Regions from separate parts of the Homo sapiens genome. Here all the other regions are linked to region 3. The links are contacts of gene promoters, found by promoter capture Hi-C in human tissues and cell types (Jung and others, 2019). All regions are on one chromosome and are shown on one strand. Each heading gives the region's core, a stretch centred on a gene start or on the middle of the fragment in contact. The rest is flanking DNA. Distances are from core to core; before and after follow the strand shown. Region 1 overlaps PIM1 (Pim-1 proto-oncogene, serine/threonine kinase). Region 2 overlaps CPNE5 (copine 5). Region 3 holds the start of PI16 (peptidase inhibitor 16). Region 4 has its middle 34 kb from the start of PIM1.

The links. Contacts are between HindIII fragments. The study calls those that stand out against the background at their distance.
Region 1: a contact is called between a fragment that was not itself captured here and the fragment with the promoter of PI16 in region 3, in 5 of the 25 tissues and cell types used here (dorsolateral prefrontal cortex, heart left ventricle, lymphoblastoid cells and 2 more).
Region 2: a contact is called between a fragment that was not itself captured here and the fragment with the promoter of PI16 in region 3, in 1 of the 25 tissues and cell types used here (spleen).
Region 4: a contact is called between a fragment that was not itself captured here and the fragment with the promoter of PI16 in region 3, in 1 of the 25 tissues and cell types used here (spleen).

The regions. Positions count from the first base shown.
Region 1 is chr6:37,175,355-37,178,114 of GRCh38, forward strand. It overlaps PIM1 (Pim-1 proto-oncogene, serine/threonine kinase), which reads left to right. Exons shown (of 6, transcript NM_002648.4): 6 at 1-74. Among named protein-coding and RNA genes, the nearest start is that of PIM1, 6.6 kb to the left of the region's middle. The HindIII fragment of the contact is 4,205 bases long and covers 1-2,760 here.
Region 2 is chr6:36,767,799-36,770,550 of GRCh38, forward strand. The region is part of intron 10 of CPNE5 (copine 5); the gene reads right to left. Among named protein-coding and RNA genes, the nearest start is that of CPNE5, 70 kb to the right of the region's middle. RefSeq lists an enhancer at 870-1,401. The HindIII fragment of the contact is 6,053 bases long and covers 1-2,752 here.
Region 3 is chr6:36,953,336-36,956,035 of GRCh38, forward strand. PI16 (peptidase inhibitor 16) reads left to right here and starts at 1,403. Exons shown (of 7, transcript NM_153370.3): 1 at 1,403-1,596. The coding sequence starts at 1,426. The HindIII fragment of the contact is 39,732 bases long and covers 1-2,700 here.
Region 4 is chr6:37,202,366-37,205,065 of GRCh38, forward strand. No RefSeq gene overlaps it. Among named protein-coding and RNA genes, the nearest start is that of PIM1, 34 kb to the left of the region's middle. The HindIII fragment of the contact is 3,955 bases long and covers 1-2,700 here.

The sequences.
Region 1 (2,760 bases), core at 87-2,586, 220 kb after region 3:
GTACAGGGGAATAAAAGAGATCTTATTTTTTTTTTTATACTTGGCGTTTTTTGAATAAAAACCTTTTGTCTTAACTCGTGGCTTCTAATCGTCTGTGCGGAGGCATTGCTAACCTGCATTTATTGAGCATTTGGTAAGTGCCAAAGAATTGTAGGAGAAAGGAATTCTCAGCCTAAATCTGGCTTCCTTCAACATTGGGATTTCTAGGATAGTCATCTTCCTGAAACGAATGTATGGTCAAGGGGTAGGACCAGTATTGTCAAAATTTGGGCAATATCTGGCATGGGAGGCCTAATAAAATAACCTTTTCCAGATTACAATTTTAAAGCTATGCAAATAGGATAGATGTGACAATTTTCAAGTGTTCAATAGCCATTTATGGCTAGTGGCCACCTCATATAAAACATCATTGCAGAAAGTTCTATTGGATGGGGCTGATCTAGAGATAACAAATACATACCTATTACCAAACTAACCCTTGAAGCTTTTATCAGTTGTCTGCCACTGATAGTAAAACATTTTGAGCATGTCCCCTTGGTACACGTGAAGTTTATTGAAAAACTATTGCCTCTATTACTCTCGGTTCCTGATTCAAGTTTCCTTCACCTTTAGTGTGAGGTTTAGTTTCTTTTCGAGACTGAGTCTCTGTCAACCAGGCTGGACCAGCTGGCGTGCCACTGCCAGTGGCACGATCTCGGCTCACTGCAACTTTCACTTCCCGGGTTCAAGCAGTTCTACCTCAGCCTCCTGAGTAGCTGGGATTACAGGCGCCCGCTGCCACGCCCAGCTAATTTTTGTATTTTAGTAGAGACAGGGTTTTACCATGTTGGCCAGGCTGGTCTCGAGCTCCTTGACCTTATGATCCGCCTGCTTCAGCCACCCAAAGTGCTAGGATTACAGGTGTGAGCCATCGTGCTCCGCAGCCTTTTTTTTTTTTTTTTTGAGATGGAGTGTCGCTCTGTTGCCCAGGCTGGGGTGCAGTGGTGCAATCTAGGCTCATCGCAAGCTCCGCCTCCCGGGTTTTAAGTGATTATCCTGTCTCAGCCTCCCGAGAAGTTGGGATTACAGGCATGTGCCACCAGGCCAGCTAATTTTGTATTAGTAGATACGGGGTTTCGCCATGTTGGCCAGGCTGGTTTGGAACTCCTGACTTCAAGTGATCTGCCTGCCTTGGCCTCCCAAAGTGCTGGGATTACAGGCGTGGGCCACCGCGCCTGGCCTAGTCTTTAACAATAGTATAATTTATTATGCAGCATAGAAAAAATAATAGAACAGTGTGGTGACACTAAAGTCGTGACCAGATAAGACCCAGTCTACAAAAAATAAGTGAAAATTAGCTGAGCGTGGTGGCATACACCTGTAGTCCTACCTATGCAGGAGGCTGAGGCAGGAGGATCGCTTGAACCCAGGAGCTCCAAGGTTGCAGTGAGTTATGATCACGCTATTGCACTCCAGCCTGGGCAACAGGTAACCCCACTTAAAACACACACACACACACACACACACACACACACAATAGTGGATGGGTAGAAATGTGAGTTTGACTTAAGGTTTCCCCCTCTGATGTGTTTGACAAAGGGCTAATATTGGGAGTAGGTGAAATGTTAGCTCTGCCATTTTCTTACTGCTTATTCTTGAATAATTAGTATTTTTAGTCCATGGTTTCTTTGCAGGGATCTGTTTAATAGGCCCTTTGTCCATTTTGTGTGAGTTTAGTTAAACTGGATGGCAAGACCCATGAATCCACTTTGTACGTGTGGCCTGAATACATCCTGATATTTTGAAAGCACACTGGAGTGCCATTGTCAATTCATATATTAAGTATTGGTAAATGTTGGTTTCTTGTTTCTTTATAAATATCCACAGTTATAATACTCCCTCCCTGGGGGTCATCATGCTCCCAACCCTCAATGCATCCACACACCCTTTGGACACTGGCCCATATGCACCCTCGAGGTTGCTGGAGGGTGCAGACTATAATACCCCTCACTCCTCATTGGGTTCTGGTGTATGTCTACCCTTAAGCTTAGACTAGATCCCATACCTCAGCTCAGCCCCCATGTGGCTATAAAGAGGAAGGAAGGATGTCTTGGTTCTGGGGGGCTGATTTTCTGAGGTTCCCCTTTTCTCTAATCTCTCCCATCCCCCACACAACATACACACACTACCAACATCTTGGAGCCTGAGGGTTGCATGCTTCGTCCTTTCCAGTAAAGCTGACACTTGGATAATTAAAAGTTGCCGCAAACTATTAACGAAATCAGGCAAAGCCCCACCCTTCTCTTTCTCGAAGTGAGTTTCTGGCAGTTTCCCCATCTAATGAGACTGCTGCGGGGGAATAGAAGAAAGTATCTCTGAATAAAGACAGATCGTGCTCCTGTTGGATGCAAGAGATTAAGAGTTTTAGGGGGAGGGTGAAAGGTCATATTTAATCTCTTCTCAGGGGCAGTTTGACATCTAGCGTGGAAAGGGAATCAGATAACCAATAAGTCTGCGGGGGATCAATGTCATGGCCAGAGGAATATAGAGAGCAATGGTTAAAAGCATTGACTTGGGAATCAGCCTTGAGCTTACTTATCTAGAAACCTTGGGCAAGTTATTACACCCTCTAAAACTAATCTCTAAACAGAGATACTCCTGGATTGGATTATTAGGAGACTGGGTTAAATAACAGATATACTTACATACAGAAAAACTACTATCTCCCGCTTACGGATGCATACACATGTAGCAAAAGTACAAAGAAGTACAGGGTGGGGT
Region 2 (2,752 bases), core at 238-2,737, 190 kb before region 3:
GTTCTGTGATGGATTCTAACATGCAACCAGAGCCACTGACCTTCTCTAGAAGACAGCACTAGTTTTCAAACTTGGTTGCAATTTGGAATCCCCCCAAGAAGCTTTAGAAATACTGACACCAATGTCTTACCCGAGAGATTCATGATCAGTTGGTCTGGAGTGCAAGCTGGGCATGGGAATTGTTAAAAGCTCCCCAGGGGGATTTGAACTTGCAACCCAGGTTGAGACCACTGAATGAGATTCCTGTGCAAACTCGGCCTGGCCTCCATTAAGGCTCCAGGGATGGCTGCAGCCTGGGGGTCAGATTAGCTCAAAGTCTGCACCTCCAGCTTTGGGAGAGAAGGAGGTGAGAGAAATAGTGCCCAGAGACAGGGGGAAGACCATGGGGAGAAGACAAATAAGGCTTTGACTACTCTATTCACAGTTCTTTTTTTTTTTTTTTTTTTTTTTTTTTGAGACAGAGTCTCGCTCTGTCGCCCAAGCTGGAGTGCAGTGGTACGATCTCGGCTCACTGCAACCTCCACCTCCTGGGTTCAAGCAATTCTGCCTCAGCCTCCTGAGTAGCTGGGATTACAGGCGCATGCCATCATATCCGGCTAATTTTTGTATTTTTAGTAGAGACGGGGTTTCACCATGGTGGCCAGGTTGGTCTCAAACTCCTGACCTCAAGTGATCCGCCCACCTTGGCCTCCCAAAATGCTGGGATTACAGGCGTGAACCAGCGTGCCCAGCCATATTCACAGTTCTGTGGCTGTCCACCCTGGTTGGGCTGCCTGAAGTCACTGCAGATGTCACTTGTCACCTGCTGGCCTTGGCTCCTAACCCCTTAGCACAGGGCCAACAAAAGCTGCGGTCCAGCTGACTGTGACTTCTGGGGCCGGCACCCAAGAGAACAGGCTTATTGGGTGTGGGAAAATGAAATGGGCTTCTGCAGACCACCAAATGAACACCTTATCTGGCATACAAAGGCTCAGGACAGAGGCCTAACCTAGGAGGCAGCAAAGTGGGCAGAAAAGACCTTCGGCTGTGGGGTGAGCAGCCCTGGCTGGCAGTCTCAGCTCTTCCAAGTACTAGGTCTGTTGCCCCGAGCAACTGGCTTAACCCTCAGACACTCCCCTCCTTTCCAAATTGAGAAAAATCACAGCCACTTTGGAGCTGCTGTGCAAGTAAACTATCTCCACGTACAGTCAGCGCTGGACACATGTTGCTCTGTTCCTGTCTAAAACACTCCATCCCTTTATCCAAGCTCCTGTCTCTCAAACAATTCCCATGCTTCTTGAAAATATCAGCTCCATGAGGCCCGGGATTTTTGTTTGTTTGTTTCCTGCTGTATCTTCAGCTTCTAGAACAGTGCCTAGCCTATATCAGGTGCTGTATACATATTTGTTGGCTGACTGAGAGCTCCTAGCAACGTGATGAAATGGGCTGTGCAGGTAATAATACCGTCATTCTACAAAATCACAAAAGGAGGCCAAGAGTATGTGGCTCTCCGTGAGTCACACAGCTGGTCAGTGGTGATGCCAGGAGTCAGTGACCTGGGCCTCTGGACACCTAGAGCCACAATGACAGAGCCAGATATGTGTGAGCCTGGGCAAGCCAGCAGGGATGAGAGACACCAGCCAAAACGCCAGGCTGCCCCCACGGCATACCAACTAGCTCTATCTATAGTTTCCTCCCAGCTGAGCTGCAAGGTCTGCCTCCTAATGAGCCTCTGCCTGGCAGGGGGAAGGTTTCCCTGCGGCTTACAAGTCCCGAGGGCTGACAGGCCCTGAGGGGTTTTGCCTTAAATGGACTTGAGTCAGTCCAACACTCAACTCTTCAGGAAGAGGAGCATCAGGGCCTCATCTGGGGCAGGCAGTGAGACTGGCAGCAATCTCGGCCCCCAGGTTGCACTGCGCAACACCGGGCAGTGCCGCGGTGACCGTGCCTCCCGTCTGAGCCTCAGCTTCTGCATGTGAATACCGAGAACGGTACGATGCCCTTCATCGAGGCCATCTGTGGAGATGCCTGATAGGGCGCCTGGCCCTCCTGGGAGCTCATCTGTGGCCGGATGCAAAAGAGAAGGAACTCACACATCAAGGGTGCCAGGCAGAAGTGGGAAGCTGCGGTGACTCCTTTCCTCTCTCCAGGTGAGGACTCCACACTCTTAACACCCTCTTAAAATCTACTCATTCAGCATCAAGGTGTGAGCAGCCTGACCCAGACAACTGTGGTTTAACAGGGACAAATCCTCAAGTCACAGAACATTAAGAGAGTAGGGCAAATTCCAGGAAGGCAGGGGAAGTGCTTCCTGTCATCACCCCACTTTACCCCACCGGAAGGCTGGCTTGGCTCTGATCCTGATGCCACTTCCTGTGACTTCAGCTCTGCTCAGCTAGGTCACTCAGGTTTGGCCTTGTGTGGACTGGACACATAGCAAAGGCAGGGAGACTCCAGGCCAGAGGGCCAGGCCAGAGGCAATTTCAACAGGAGGGAAATGCAGCTTCTCCTTACTCTGGCAAGTTATATAATATCTTCTCTTCTATTTCCCTTGTAAAATAGGCACAGCACTAGACCCGGCTCCTAGGGTTATTGTAAAATTTAAATTCACAAAATAAGATAACGCATTTAAACCAATTAGAATACAACTTGGTCCATGTCCTAAGTCCTCAGTAACTGTAATCGTATTACCTGGCTTCTACACCCATCATTCCGAGAACACTGCCCTTTCTCATCAGGCCCGGGTTCTCATCCTCCTGTACCTCTTCTCACA
Region 3 (2,700 bases), core at 153-2,652:
AAAAAAAAAAAAAAAGTTTATTGGTAAGAATTTTATTCTTTTTATTCTTTTTCATTGCTTTTATAAATGAAATTGTTTTCTTAATTTCCTTTTTGGATTTTTCATTATTAGTGTATAGAAACAACTAATTTCTATGTGTTAATTTTGTATCCTGCAACTTTGCTGACTTTATTAATTCTAATAAGTGTGTGTGTGTGTGTATGTGTGTGTAATCCATCTTGGTTTTGTTTTTATTTTTACTTGGAGACTCAGGCAGGGACAGGTTTTCTTGTCATCTTCCAAAGCCTGTGGGTAGACTTTTTCTAGGTCCCTATTCATTGAAGAAGCAGGCTTCAAGGATCCCAGCTGTCCTCAAGAGTACTGGTTCCAGCTTCCTGCTTCATGAACCGGTCATGGCCCCTGCAAGGTCAAGGTCATTATAATGCCAGCACCTGACTGCTAAGGCTATTTCCCTTCCAATACCTTCCCCTCAGAGCTCCTGGTGCATCAGCTCATTCAACCTTCTGCTTTTCTGCTCTCTCTTGATTTAAGAAACAGACACATTATATTTCTACATAGTTAGAGCACAGGGGTCCCAGCATCCCACTTCCAAATGAGCATGTCAAGCACATGCATTCAGAGAGGATACCTGGAAGCCAAAATTTTGCCATAGTGAAAGGCCTTATTCCTGAATACAGCTAGAGTGGGGAAGACCTTGGCCTCTCCCCCCGCAGGCAAGAATGTTGCCTCCACAGGGGGCTGGTAGCCTGCTAAGGCCCAGGCCACATGAGTGGGTTGTCTACTGTTACTGAGGGCCTACTATGTGCCAGACACCATACTAGGTGCTTTACATACATTATATGTCATTGAATCTTCCCTCTAGTCCTGTGAGATAGGTACTATTATTGTCACTGATTCACTTGAGAAAGCTGCCAAAACACAGATAGCAAGGGGCAGAACCAGGATTCTGATTTAGGTTGGCTCAGCCTTTTATCAAATACATCTGGTCTTCCTCTGTCCTTTCAAAAGCCTATAGCTTCCTCATCTTGCCCACTCCTCTGTGGGTAGGGTCTGTGGTTTCCTTTCTCTTATCTATCTTCAACACACAGTGGGTGTGACCTGGGTGCAACCAGTCACAGCTCTGCAGAGGTTACTGTGATTTTGCCCCTGAAGGATCTGTCCACAACTTAGGAACTCACACAGCTTTTGGCCTGAGCCCCCGTTACCAAGAGAAAGGAGGTTTTTGCCAAGGACTCCAAGGGGAGTGCACTTGATGCTGGTCGGGACCCAAAGCGCCCAGCCCTCCCTGAGACATTGTGTGAGTCGGGCTGGGCCTCAAACACGGCCCCCACTGCCCCACCCCAGCCAGGGTGGTGCTTGTGTGGGAAGGACTTTAAATCCAGCTGCCAGACCCCTGGACGGGAGAAGGAGAGACGGCTGGCCACCATGCACGGCTCCTGCAGTTTCCTGATGCTTCTGCTGCCGCTACTGCTACTGCTGGTGGCCACCACAGGCCCCGTTGGAGCCCTCACAGATGAGGAGAAACGTTTGATGGTGGAGCTGCACAACCTCTACCGGGCCCAGGTATCCCCGACGGCCTCAGACATGCTGCACATGGTAAGTGTGGCCACGGCCCTTGCTGGCTGGGATGGAAGGGGTGCTGGCCAGGGTCTGTCACCAGGCTCTCTTACCCTGCTCCTCATGCTGAAGCTATTTCAGAATTCCTCTCCTTTTTCTGGTCAGTGACAGAGTCCCCGAGTCCCTGACATGGTATTACATTACTTTAAATGGCAAAAACCACAATTACTTTTGCACCCGCCTAATAAAATTCACAGGCCCCTATAAGCAGCCTCATAATACAGATAAGGAAAGTGAGGCTCAGAGGGATTTGTTGGGGTCACACAGCTGGTAGAGCCAGACCCAAAGCCCTGGCTTCCCACTCCAATGAGCTTTCCCCAGCACTTCCTCAAATGCATGTGCCCTCAGTGGGGGAACCCGGGAAGTTCTTAACACCTTTGTGAAAACGGTCTTTCACATGCCTGCCAAGGAGAGGACAAGAGGAAGCAGGGCAGCAGGATGGGCGTGGGCACGTGGAGTAGGAGGCAGGTGCTAAGGAGGTGGGTGACAGCAGGATCCAGAAGCAGAGAGGGCTCTGGATCACACAGTCCAAATTCTGTCTCGGTCACCTACAAGACCTATGATTCGAGGCAAGTCCTGTAACCTTGCCGATCCCGTGTCTCATCTGTAAAAGGCGGTCAGAATTAGAGCTACGTATATACCAGTGTGGATTGAATCTCACAGATATCATACTGAATGGGGGAGGAAATAAAATCTCTAAAAAATACACAGTAGGATCTCTTTACATGAAGTCTGAAAACATGTAAAAATACTATTTATGTCCTGGTGAAACACGCAGATGTAGTAAACATTACATGTACATGCACACAGGAGACAGAAGCCAGATTTAGGGTTGGTTACTTCTGTCAGGAAGAGCTATTTATGGTAGGGTGAGAGGCGGGCTGTCTATATGCAGAATTAAAGGAGATAAAGTGAGAAATTCACCCACTTCCTGCCCTCCCTGAGGGCTGAACTAGCTTGTCCCCTCCAGCCACCCTCAGGTGACTGGGGAGGTTGCTGGGCAGTGTTCAGGGACCCCTGGAGCTGGTGCCTGAGAGAACAGATGCACCTTGGGGAACATAACAGTGAGCCTGGGGCCCCAAA
Region 4 (2,700 bases), core at 56-2,555, 250 kb after region 3:
TGTATTTTTAGTAGAGATGGGGTTTCACCGCGTTGGCCAAGGCTGGTTTTGAACTCCTGACCTCAGATGATCTGCCCGCCTCGGCCTCCCAGAGGGCTGGGATTAGAGGTGTGAACCACCGCACCCCAGCCCAGTCACTGGCTTCCTGACTGTTCTTTGAACACCCCAGACTTGCTCCCCCTGCTTGGAACTTTGCACTTGCTCTTCGTTTCAAATGTCCCACAGATCTTCTCAGTCATGTTAAGCATCACCTCCCCAGAGAGACATCCTTTGTCCAAAGGCCTCCTGGCTGCCCATCTCCATTGAGTCATGAGCCTATTCCTGAGCCAGTTAATCACGAGAGGACAGAATTACTAGGACTGGCAAAGTCTTGTTATTTGGGACCAAACTCTCTATTATACTACCTTGTCTTATTCTCTTCCCAGCACCTATCATAGCTGAAATGATTATACAGATGTGCAAGTTTCGTTGCTTATCATCTGTCTTCCCTCCTCAGAATGTAAGTTTCGTGAGAGCAGGAATTTATCTGTTTTTTTCACCTTTGTCACTCCAATATCTAGAACAGGGTCTGATATATTTAGTATAAACTCAATAAAGATTCGTTGAATGAATCACTGACAAATAGAGATAACATAGCACTTTGGACTTCCTCTCTTACCTGATTTATCACATAGTACTGTAATGACTTCCTGACACGCTCCCTTCTTGATTCAGGGCCAAGACTGCATTTTGCTTTTTATTTTTGCCTCACTTAGCACAATGCCTGGCATATATTTGACAAGCCATATGTTTTGATGAATGAATAAATTTTGATGAATGAAAGAAGGTGTGAACGCATATGTTTGGGAAACATAGGTGTGCTCCAGGATATCAGAAGTTGGAGAAGGTGGATGGTTATTGTACACAGGTGATCAAATGCTTAATAAAATAATCCCAATCAGGCCAAAAAATGCAAGAGCTCCTCAGATCAAAGGGTGGGGCAGGTGGGGCCAGGCTGAGGTCCGGGTAGCAGGGAGGAGGCTGGAGAGGAAGATGCCGGGAGCTGGGAAATCCTTGAAAAGGAGCTGTAAAATGTTTATTTGCTGAATTAACAGGACTCTTAATTGCTTGGGCAAATTTTATTTTTCTTTTCTTGTTTCTTTTTTTTTTTTTTAGAGACAGGGTCTCACCACGTTGCCCTGTAGTGACCAGCTCAGGCTGGTCTTGAGCTCCTGGGCTCAAGTGATCCTCCTGCCTCGGCCCCCCAAAATGTTGGAATTACAGGCATGAGCCACTGTGCCCAGCCACTGGGACACTTTTACAAGTACTTTCTCCCAAAGCCTCTGAAAAGAATCCTTTATTTCCCCCAAAACTCTGTTTGAGAAGCAGGCTGACTTCAAATCCATTCTCCATCACATCATTCATAAAAGACATCTTGTCAGTGCCACGCTGTCAGGAGGAGAAACCAAACATACACTTTAAATAAGATGCCCCTCACGGGATACATTTCTGTATCCTTGGTAAGAGGCAGAAGGAGATTTTAAAAACATGTAAAGTCTGAAAAAAATTTTGAGTTTTGTGTATCTTTAATATGAAAGTTATTTCTGATAATCACCAAGTAATTATTTCTTTTTAAGCCCTTCCAGTACAGAAGCTACCTAGTAATTATTTAACTCAGTCTTTTACATATACACAAGCACACACATACACACATACACAAGCACACACATACAAACATACACACAGACACAACATACACAAATACACACTCATATTCACATACACAAACACAGATACCCAAACATACACACAGACACAACATATACAAATACACGCACATACTCACATACACAAACACAGACATACAAACATACACAAATACACACACATATTCACATACACATACACAAACACAGATACCCAAACATACACACATAGACACAACAGACACAAATACAAACACGCACATGCACAAACCCAGATTACAAACATACACACAGACCCAAATGCATACATTCACACGCACAACACAGATGCACAGACACACACAATCATACACCAAACACACATGCATAAAACCCTTGTTTCCTAAGCGAACTAACACAGGAACAGAAAAAAGAAATACTGCATGTTCTCCCTTATGAGTGGGAGCTGAACACTGAGTACATATGGACACGAAGAAGGAAACAGCAGACATTGGGGCCTACTAGAGGGTGGAAGGTTGGAGAAGTGTGAGGCTCACAAAACTGTGGAATCCAGCCAGGTGCAGTGACTCATACCTGTAATCCCAGCACTTTGAGAGGCCGAGGCCAGCAGATCACTTGAGGTCAGGAGTCCAAGACCATCCTAGCCAACATGGTGAAACCCTTTCTCTACTAAAAATAAAAAAATTAGCCGGGCATGGTGGTGAGTGCCTGTAATCCCAGCTACTCAGGAGGCTGAGGCAGGAGAATCGCTTGAACCCGGGAGGTGGAGGTTGCAGTGAGCTGAGATCGCACCCCTGGACTCCAGCCTGGGCTACAGAGTGAGACTCCATCTCAAAAAAAATGGAAAGAAAAAGAAAAGAAATCTGCACACGTGCCCTTGAACCTAAAATAAAATTTAAAAAAATAATAATAAAAGAGGTGTAAAACAAAACAAAAAATCCCTTGTTAATGAAGCAAAATATGATCAGAGGCATTTGTAAAAACTATTTCCTAGGGAATAAAATCATCATTTATT